Regions from separate parts of the Homo sapiens genome. Here regions 1 and 3 are each linked to region 2. The links are contacts of gene promoters, found by promoter capture Hi-C in human tissues and cell types (Jung and others, 2019). All regions are on one chromosome and are shown on one strand. The core of a region is centred on a gene start or on the middle of the fragment in contact, and the rest is flanking DNA. Distances in the headings are between cores, read along the strand shown.

Region 1 (3,710 bases), core at 970-3,469, 47 kb before region 2:
AATTCTCATGACATTTCAAATCTTTTCATTTTTATAACTGCTATGGTGATCTGTGATCAGGGATCTTTAATGTTACAGTTGTAATTGTTTTGGGGTCTCATAAACCATACTTATAATAATAATAAAAAGTTTAAAATATTGTGAGAATTATTGAAATGTGACACAGTCATGATGTGAGCACATGCTGCTGGAAAAAAATGATGCCAACAGACTTGCTTGATTCAAGGTTGCCACAAACTTTCAATTTGTAACAAGAGCAATATCCACAAAGCATAAAGAAAAGCATGATATAACAATGTATGTTGTGCCTAACTGCAGTGCAGCATTATCCTTCAGTGTGAAAGAAAGGAAATTCCCTACTACAGCTCCCTCTGGTCTTCCATGTGGAAGAAGGAAAATAACCCCAGCCACCTTCAGCCATCCTGTTCCACCTAAGGTCATGGGGTGAGGGACTGTGAAGCACTGATAAAATTCACAGTCCAGGGCTCAGGCTCACCAAAATCTGAGACCTAATCATAGAATGAGTCCTTCCCGTTTCACCTTACCAACACATAGCTAAGGGCTTATTAAAAAAAAACAAAACATAGTTTCTTTTACCCAGTGCATCATGTTCACCTTTCAACACAAAATTAAAAGGCATACTGCAAGGAAAAGAAACTACAGTTTAAAGAGACTGAATAAGCATCAAACCAGAGTCAGATATGGCAGAAAGGTTGGAATTATCATTCTAGGAATTTTTCAAACTATGATTCCCGTGCTAAGAACTTTAATAAAAAAGTAGACAACAGGCAGGAACAGAATGGCTAATGTAAGCAGAAAGATGATAACTGTAACAAAGAATCAAAAATAAATGCTGTAGATAAAAAACACCATAATTGAAATGAAGCATACATTTGATGGGCTCATTAGTAAATTAGACACTGCTAAGGAAAGAATCTGAGTTTGAGGAGGTGATAATCAAAACTTCCAAAACTAAAAGCAAAGAGAAAAAAAGCTGGGAAATACAAAACTAAACAGGATATCTAAAAGCTTTGGGACAACAACAAAATATGTAATTACACACAATAGGAATACAAGGAGAAAGAGAGAAAAGAATAGAACCAACATTTGAAGCAATAGTGACTGAGAATTTGCCCAAATTAATGTCAGACATCAAACCAAAATTCCAGAAGTATAATATTCAAATATCAGACCAAAAATCTGGGAATATCATTTTCAAATATCAGAAAATCTAAGATAAATTTAAAAATATTAAAAGAACCCAGAGGGGAAAAAAACCAACTTACCTATACAAGCGAAGATAAGAATTACATCTGACTTATCAGAAATCATACAAGAAAGAGAGACTAAAGTGAAATATATAGTGTTGAGAGAAAAATACCACCAAACTAGAATTCTGTACCCTGAGAAATCATTCTTCAAAAGTGAAGGAGAAATATAGACTTTCTCAGACAAACAAAAATTGAGGAATTTGCTGCCAGTAGGCCTGCCTTGCAAGCAATGTTAAAATAAGCTTTTCAGAAATAATAAAAATTATATAAGTGAGAAGCTTAAATCTACATAAACTATTCAGAGAATGAATAAGTGAAGGTAAAATATTTTTTATTATTATTAATTGATCTAAGGTATGAGTTTTTTCAAAATAATAATAGCAATAATGGATTTCACTGCATATATGCTTATGTATAAGTAAAATGAATGATTGCAATGACAGAAAAGGCAGGAGAGAGGAATTTGAAATATTTTATAAGATACTTGCTTGCATTACTCATAAATCAGTATAGTGTTATTTAAAAGTTGACTTGGAATAGGTGTAAGTTCATATTTAAAAACCTAGCCAGGTGAGGCGGCACATGCATTTAATCCCAGCATTTTGGGAGGCCAAGGCTGGTGGATTTATTGAACCCAGGAGTTTGAGACAAGCCTGGGCAACACAGTGAGACCCTATCTCTACAAAAAAATAGAAAAGAATCAGCCAGGCATGGTGGTACTGGAAGGATCACCTGAGCCCAGGGTAATAAATGGAACATAATAACATATATGGTGAATATTATTCTAACTATATATATAATTGCCTTAAATATGAATGATTTAAATACACTCATTAAAGACAGGTTGTCAGAGTGGATCAAAAAAAAACCAAGGCTCAATTACATGTTGTCTACAAGAGACACACTTTAAATATAAAAACACATACAAAGTAAAAGGAAGGGTATAAAGGTATAACATTCTAAAACTAATAAAAAGAAAACAGGAGTAGCTAAATTAATTTCACACAGTGCAAACTTTGGAGCAGGGAAAATTATTAGAGATAAAGTGAGGCATTACATGATAATAAGGGTAAAAAGGTCAGTGCACCAAAAAGACATAAATCTTTAATGCATATGCACCTAACAAAATACATGAAGCAAAATCTAATAGATATGGAAGGAAAAATAGATGAATCCACTATTACATTTAAATGGTAAACACCATTCTAACAGAAATGAAAATATACAGCAGGCAGAAATTAGTAAGGACAAAGTTGAACTAAAAACACTATTAATCAAAAAAGATAATTTTCATATATATACTCCTATAACCAATAACAGCAGATTACTTATCGTTCTAAAGTTCACATGGACATTCCTCAAGATATACTACATTCATGGCCAAAAAGAAAACTCTTAAAAATTTGAACAAATATACATAATCCAATAACTGCTCTCAAACCGTAACAGAAAGATAACTGGGAAATCCCAAAATAATTGGAAATGTAAAAACATACTTCTAACTAATACATGGATTGAAGACAAAATCTCAGGAATAATTTAAAAATATTATAAACAAAATAAAAATCAAAATATAACTTTTCTTTGAGGGAAATCTATAGCATTGAATGAATATATTAGAAAAGAGGAAAGATCTAAAATCAACTGTCTAAGCTTCTATCCTAAGAATCTAAACAAAAAAGAGGAAAATAAATCTGAAATAAACAGAACAAAAGAAAATTAAATTACACCAGAAGTAATAAAACAGACAGCAGAAAGTCACCATAGAATTAGCATCCAAACCAAAACCTGATTCTTTCAGAATGTTAATAAAATTTATAAGCCTCTAGCTAAGCCAACTAAGTAAGAGATAAGTTACAAATTATTATTGGCAGGAAAAAGAGGAGATATCACCACAGATCCCATGGACATTAAAAGGATGATAAAAGAATATTATGAAAAACTCTGTGCCCACAAATTTGATAAATTAGATGAAATAAGTCAATTCCTTGGTAGATCCAATCTGTAAAAACTCATAAATAAAGAATTAGAAAATCTGAAAAGGTCCAATAAGAAGATTGAATCAAAAATTAATAAACTTTCTAAAGAGAAAGCATCAGAACAAGATGGGTTCACTGTTGAAGTCTATCAAACATTTAAGGAAAAAGATATACCAATTCTCTGCAACCTTTTTCAGAATATAGAAGCGAAAGGAATATTACTAACTGATCTTATGAGGTCACATCACCCTAATATCAAAACCAGGTGAAAACATTAAAAGAAAATAATACTACAGACCAATATCTCTCATGAACATAAATGCAAAAATCCTTAACAAAATATTATCAAATTGAATCCCAAGGTATATAAAATAAGTAAATGCCATAGTCAAGTGGAATTTATCCCAGGTATGCCAGGCTGTTTCAATATTTGAAAATAAATTAGTATCACCATCAACAA
Region 2 (3,511 bases), core at 353-2,852:
CATTTTTATCTCCCTTGACCCAACCTCGTCAGTCACCCTCCTTCCTATCCCCCAGCTTCTTTCTGCACTCCTCACAAAGCTTGCTTTCTACTCTAAGCTGTCTGGGCTCCCTGACCTCCAAAGGCTTTCGCCTGCCAGTCGATTCTAAGGCACCTAACGGACCGCTCCAGCCAGATGCCTTTTCGGGAAAGGGCGGGGGAAAGAGGGAGGGAGAAGGCGGAGGGGAGGAGTGAAGTCGCTCTCCCTCCGTGGGTACTGACAGGGTTGCAGACTTCCGAGCAGGTCTGGCCATTGAATATTTGGTGGTGCCACGTAGGAACTGTTCCTTACCTCTCTCCTCCCACCCTACCCACACCCCCTCCCCTTCCCTCCCAATCCCTAGTCCTCCGCCCCCACCCCATTTGCTTGGCGACTTTCATCATTCTCCAAGAGAACTGCACGTCCAACCTGCAAGAAGAAGCGGAGGGGTGGGGTGGGGGGAGTCACTGAAATTCAGGGGAAAGTGTTCTCCCTATCTTGAACCTATTCCTAATAATCTGCCAATTTTTGTCCACTTAAAATAGATTGACCCTCCCCCGCCCCCCAAACACACAGAGTGTTCCTAATCTTCTAGATTCACCCCCCTGGTTTCTCTTATATCCCCAAAACTAAAACAGCCTGCTTCTCACTTGGTTGCAGACAAAGAACTTTATCAAGGTTCATTTTATACCCTTTATATTTTCTCCTCAGCTCACCCTTAAAAAGATATTCCCATTAGTTAGAATCTGAAGAAACCAGATGTGTTCCAAGGGCAGTCTAAAGACTGTGCCTCAAACAAAAGCTTTGTATAACTGCCCTTGTGTTCAAGGTAATATTTTTCCTCTTTTCAAAGAGGCTGGAAAGTGGTGAAGGGCATTTTCAGCAGGCTCTCCTCCTGACAGATCTTTTTTTCCTGCTACCTACCTCGTCTCCCTTTATTGTCCCGCCTACATTCATCTCTTTCTCCAGTTTCCAATTCCAACCTGGTAGCAGCTACAATCTGGATTGTATTTAAGGGAATTGCTTTTTTTTTTTTTTCTTGAAGAGCGGGGAGGAAGGGTAAAGTGGGGGGAGGGGCGCAGAAGCAGTAGGACCGACGGCAATCTCCCACCTCCCCAAATCCATTTTTTCTTACCTCCTCTGACCTCTCTAGCTTGGAAGAGGAAGGTCAATGCGAGGGTTGTTACGGTGAAATCCCAGAGCCACCGTTTCGTTTTCCACCTAGAGGACCACGGCTCCATCTCCGAGCCCCGCACTCACAACTGTGAACTCAACCCACGAAATTGCGACTGCAGACCAACTTCGTCCTTTCCAAGGTATCGCCAGGGATGTTTGCTACACAGCCATTGGGGAGGGAGAGGGGGAAAAAGTCAAAGGGCTTTTTCTTCTAAATTTGATGGTTTGCGTTCTTCGTGTCTCTAGCCCTTTCCTCTCCCTCTGAGTTGGCCCCACCGGCCGGGACCCTCCGGCCGCGACCCTCTGATCCTTCCTCTGCCGGGCCCTGCCTTCAGAATGAAGGCAGATGAGGGGCTTCCACCAACAAGCTGAGAGTACTGTGTGCCCCTAAAGGCTTCATGCCGTCAGTGGGCTGGACGAGTGGCTCCGGGCAGCCCCCTCCTCCGCCCACTCCCCTCCCTGCTCCCAGCTCCCCCTCCCAGGGCGAAACTGACAAGCAGGCTGAGGGTCAGACCCAATCACACGACTCTGGGGCGGCCCCAAGCCCGCCCCCGCCTCCCTCAGCCCAAGAATGAGGACTCCGAGCAGGCCCAGCCCACCAACCACCCCCCATCTCCCCACTCCTCTCCTCCCTCCTCGCCTACCAAATCCCCGAGAAAAAATGGGAGGGAGTTACGGGGGACGCGTGCTTGGCTCCAGCACTTTGGGAATGAAAGGAATTGCAGGAGAGCCCCGGAGCACACGGAGTTTTCAAGGAGCTTCTGTATTCAATAAAAACAGCTACTTGTCTACTTGCACCCGTCTGTTAGCCTCTCGCTGGTCGGCGGGAGAGGGGAGGAGGCCAGCGCCTGATCGGCCACACCGCTGGAGTCCTGGGCTGGCAGCGGTAACCTTATCCTTGTGCAAAAATCTGCTTCGTATGGCAGACGTGGAACCAGTGGACTCATTGCGCTGCCTACTCTGAAAAGTGTTTTTATTTTTATTTTTTTAACCCAATAATTAGAAGAAAGGAATGAAGATAGAATGGAGGGACCCTAGAAGTCAAAACCTAGAGCATGTAGGGAAGTCCTCTTTGGAGATCTGAAACTGACAGGTTTATCTCTTAAACGTTTAAATTCAGCACTAGGTTCATTCAGTGGCTTTCCTCTTAAAAGAGTTGAACTGTACTCTGAGGGAGAAGGAGGAAAAAATTTATGGGAGCTGACATTAAGAGGGTGAGTAATTTAATTTTCCAGCTGATTCTGTTCTGATCCTGGATGAGGGGGTACTGAGGAGTGTGTAGAAAAGGCGAGGAAAGCAACTAGCAGAAATCTCCAAGAGGCTCGGCCCACAGCTCCTCATTAAGGGCCTGGCCCTGGCCCTCAGCCTCGGGAGCCAAAAACGTGGTCACTCCACAGTGAGAGTAATGAAGAGGGCAGGTTTCTAAATTCCCTCTCTACTTAACCCATCCTCAAAGTAATCCTCTTACACCTGGAATATAGATTCCCAAGTCACTTTTTCCACGTTAAAATCATTCCATTCTATTGACTCCTTTTTGTTCGTTAATAATTCCTAAGATGTTTCTCTCAAAGATTTTCTGGAACAGTGCCCATCAGGGTGCCAGCATACATTAGCCACTCAATAGAGATGGGTTGGATGAATGAACACATTTTTCTGTTGACAAAGACTAGAAGCATTGGCCAGGGCCTACTTTGAGTATTTAAGTCATTTAAATGCTTAAAGGCCCTCAACTAAGTTTACTGGGTACATATGTTCAATTCTACAGCTGCCACTAATCTTTAGGAACTCAGTTTTCTATTAGTCATCAAAATATGCCTCATGATCTATCAGATTACATCAAATCTCTTCATGCAGTTTAAAATTGGAAGAAAGGTGATCAAAGACTAGATTGAGCCCTTATAGGGGTATAACAGCATGAACAGAGACATATAAACTGAAGAAAGCAACTAGAAAATACCTTCAATATAAATATCACTCTCCATAACAAAGAACTACTCCTTTATCAAGAAGCTATCTCTTAGATCACAGGTAAAAAAATACTTGACATTTGTAATGCTGTTGGCAGAATGTTTGGGATGCCTCATATCAGCTGCAGAGAAATATCATCAACTAGTTCTTCAGATTACAACCTTAAACTGTTGGTTAAAATAATTTAATATCATATTGCATTTGAACCTGAAATGCACAATTACAAATTAAGACCCTTACAGTAAAAATATATGTATTTACCATCTTCATTATCCCTCATCGTCTCACAGATGGAAAATTTGTATATATTGGCTGTTTCCAAACTTGTGTACAAACTGATTTTTCTGTC
Region 3 (3,869 bases), core at 315-2,814, 47 kb after region 2:
TTTGGGAGGGACACAAAACCAAACCATATCACAGATATTTTGAGAGGTAGGAGGTGATTGGGTCATGGGGGCTGTTTCCCCCATGCAGTTCTCATGATGGTTAGAGAGTTATCGTGAAATCTGATGGTTTTGTAAGTGTTTGGCAAGTTCCTCCTTCACTCACACTTCTCCCTTCTGCTGGCTTGTAAAGAAGGCGCCTGCTTCCCTTTCACCTTCCAACATGATTGTAAATTTCCTGAAGCTTCCCCAGCCATGTGGAACTGTGAGTCAATTAAGCCTCTTTCATTTATAAATTACCTAATCTCAGGTATTTCTTCATAGCAGTGTGAGAACAGACTAATACAATCTGCAAGCCATATGTCCAATAAGGTTTTAATATCCAGAATATGTAAGAAACTCATACAACTCAATAGCAAAAATTAGTCAAACAAACAAATATCAAAAACAAATAATTCAACTAAAAACGGGAGAAAGCGCTTGAATAGACATTTATCCAAAGTAAGTATACAAACGACCAACATGTACATGAAAAAGATGCTCAACTAATCACCAGGAAATGTTATTCAAACCCAGAATGAATTATTACTTCACACCTGTTAGGATGACTGCTATGAAAAAGTTTAAGATATAACAAATTTGGCAAAGAGATAGAGAAAAGGGAACGCTTGTATACTATGAAGAAGGTGGTGATGCAAATTGATACAGTTGTTATGGAAAACAGTATGGAGTTTCCTCAAAAAATTATAAATAGAACTACCGTATAACCCAACAATCTCACTTCTGGATATATATCTGAAGGAACAAAATCAATAGTTTGAAGAGATATGTGCACTCCCATGTTCATTGCAGCATTACTCACAATAGACAAGACATGGAAACTACTTAAGTGTTCACTGACAGATGAATGAAGAAATTGTGGTGTGCATATATGTGTGTGTATGTATGTGTGTGTGTATATATATGTGTGTGGGTGTGCATATATAGATCAATTAAATATTTTAATATTGTAATTATGGCCCTTTAAAAATTTTAGAAAAAAATACATTTGTGTCACAAGTTCTCCACAGCAAAAGAAACAAGTTTTTTTGTTGTTATTATCTCTAGAAAAGAAAGAACAAGTTAAGATAAAATAATTAAATACCACAGAGCCATTTGTGTTAGGTTTGTAGTTACAAACATACCTTGGAACTTGAGAGGGTAGAAAAATGCTAGTAATGTCTCAGAACATAGACCTCATGCTTGTAGAAACTTTTTATTATTCCGTGCATTCTTTTTTTTTTTAGACGGACTTTCGCTTTTGTGGCCCAGGCTGGAGTGCAGTGGCGCAATCTCGGCTCACGGCAACCTCCGCCTCCCGGGGTTCAGCGATTCTCCTGCCTCAGCGTCCCGAGTAGCTGGGGTTACAGGCATGCACTACCACGCCCAGCTAATTTTGTATTTTTTGTAGAGATGGGGTTTCTCCATGTTGGTCAGGATGGTCTGGAACTCCGGACCTCAGGTGATCCGCCTGCCTTGGCCTCCCAAAGTGCTGGAATTACAGGCATGAGCCACCGCGCCCGGCCTAATCTGTGCATTCTATTGAAAATTTATTTAAATTAGAGTGAAGGAAAAAAATAGACATCCACCTACAAAGAAAAAAAGAAACAGAGTAGATATAACAAACATTTAATATCAATAAAATTCTAGAAGCCAGAAAATGGTTGGAAAGTGGTACTTTCATTTAGAAGATGGTAAAAAAATAAAATCTAAGTGTTCAGAGAGCAAGCCAACAAGTAAGACCTTCATGTCAAAGAATCCACTAAGTCTTAGTACTTAGAGACACCAGGTACCTCTGGAAAATAACCATTAATAAATTTTGAAGTTTATAAGAAATATGTAGATCCTCTAAGCCTTTCCTCTGTTTGAAAAAACAGACACATTTTCTGGCGACCTCTGGCAAAAGAATATGGAAAGACTGAACAAGACAAACGGTATTTAGGGATAAAAGAGAATGGGCATGAAACACGGTTTTTAAGAAAAATAGTGGAAAATAGTAAATTTTAATATTGAAGTCCCTTATACCTCTGGATTCTCAATATTCCTAATTGCATTGCTTTGTGCCAAATGAGGCACAAGAAAATGAAGATCTTCTGTCTACTGTTATTGCTATGAGCAATAAAATGTCCTTTTTTCTTGGATCCTCTAGTCTTGTGTTTTCTGCCAACATTCATGAAAATGAGGCATGTTAATGTGCTAGCTTGCAATTAGGGCAAAATATCAGCCACTTCATAATTCTTAATGGTCACATATTTACAAATCAGAAAACATGGCTCACAAGGTTAGGTGATATGTTCAAGGTCACATAACTAACAGAGCATAAGGTCAGATATGAACCTGCCTATATGACTCCAACTTCACCAACAGATATGTTATTTGAGTTAACTATTTGATAAGCAAGACATCTTAGTAAAAAGGATTTAGTGATGGGGGAAGTTATCTGTGTAACACATTCACATAGGATATATCGGGCTTTCATTGGCATGGTTATTAAGAATTATCTATAAATACTTCGGAAGAAGAAGCTTTACCTTCCCTTAAAGCAAGCAAAACTCTAAGGATGGTCTTCTTAAAAATCTGCAATGGACCCTGGAACAGTAAACTTTTCCTGAGTGTTATTATAATATATTCTTCTTTTGAAAGATTTCTGGATGACATTAATTATAACAATGAGGTATTAAAGTAATGTGATGTCCAAGAACGCTACTCTTTATTATCCTTAACTTCAAAACAAGAGTGGCAAGTGTTTAGTCCAACAGAAAATAAAAATCAAACTGGAAAAACCACAAAGTGATTTCAAACACATGAAGCTGCTGCTACTGCTGAATAATGGTTAGCCTTGACCAACATCTCTCTTTCCCACTTCTTCTGATTGCCTTCCAATTACAGGAACCACAGGAATTAACTCTAGGCAAACAAAGCCCTGGACGTGTGATAATAATCTTTGCCACAAAATACATGAGCTAGTCTGGAAAACCTCACCTTCAGAAGAGGACTTTCATTTTTGTTAATGCATTGCAAACTTTTTCGGAGATGCCTGCGCTGAGTAGAACTCAATGAAGTTGTATGGTGGGTAACAATAAGAAGAGATACATAATAGTTCCTGGAAAATCTAGAAAAACACTTTCTTCCCAATAGTCTTCCTTTTCATTCTTTAAAGCTCCTATTACAGAGCTAAAAAAAAGGATGTTCCACTATTAAAAAAAAAGTTATTGTTAAAAATTCAAATTTGTCTTGGTACCCAAAGATTCCCTAATGTCTTTGGACTTCTCAAGGGAGTCCAGCAGCCTCCAGAGGCTGGGAGGAGCAGAGTAACATACTCTTATGCTTATTTCTCCTCAACAATGGTCTCAGCTTCCAAATCTATTTCTCTAGGCATTTAAGTATCAAGATATGTTATTAGTGACAGACTCAAGATTCAAATCCAATACACCTTAACCCCTAAATTGCAATATTTATATTTCTTATTTTTAAATTAAATAAGCAGTAATTGGGCTAAGGCTGTCTCTATGCTTTGAGTTCCCATAGGGAAAATAACAACAACAACAAACCAACAATAAAAGCTCTGTAACTAACTTATTATGTAAACACATCAAAACCTAACTTAGGAGGATATATATATATATAAATTTTATATATAATAAATTATATATATAAATTAGCTAGGTTTTCAATCACAGACAGGTAAGCTTCATCCAATCATAGACAACAAACTGATCAGATCATAACCAAATAAGGTAAATGCCTCATCACACCACACCCAAATAAGGCAAATGCCTAGCTTTAGCCAATCAGGTGATTGCTCTACTCTGCCTGATGGCTGGCTTGTAAAA

What was found. Contacts are between HindIII fragments. The study calls those that stand out against the background at their distance.
Region 1: a fragment that was not itself captured here is called in contact with the fragment with the promoter of COL11A1 in region 2 in 3 of the 25 tissues and cell types used here (aorta, bladder and hippocampus).
Region 3: a contact is called between a fragment that was not itself captured here and the fragment with the promoter of COL11A1 in region 2, in 1 of the 25 tissues and cell types used here (H1 embryonic stem cells).

The regions. Positions count from the first base shown.
Region 1 is chr1:103,058,845-103,062,554 of GRCh38, forward strand. All of the region lies in intron 4 of COL11A1 (collagen type XI alpha 1 chain), which reads right to left. Among named protein-coding and RNA genes, the nearest start is that of COL11A1, 48 kb to the right of the region's middle. The HindIII fragment of the contact is 5,903 bases long and covers 1-3,710 here.
Region 2 is chr1:103,106,920-103,110,430 of GRCh38, forward strand. It overlaps COL11A1 (collagen type XI alpha 1 chain), which reads right to left and starts at 1,603. Exons shown (of 67, transcript NM_001854.4): 1 at 1,154-1,603. The coding sequence starts at 1,259. The HindIII fragment of the contact is 6,490 bases long and covers 450-3,511 here.
Region 3 is chr1:103,154,244-103,158,112 of GRCh38, forward strand. No RefSeq gene overlaps it. Among named protein-coding and RNA genes, the nearest start is that of COL11A1, 48 kb to the left of the region's middle. The HindIII fragment of the contact is 3,157 bases long and covers 1-3,143 here.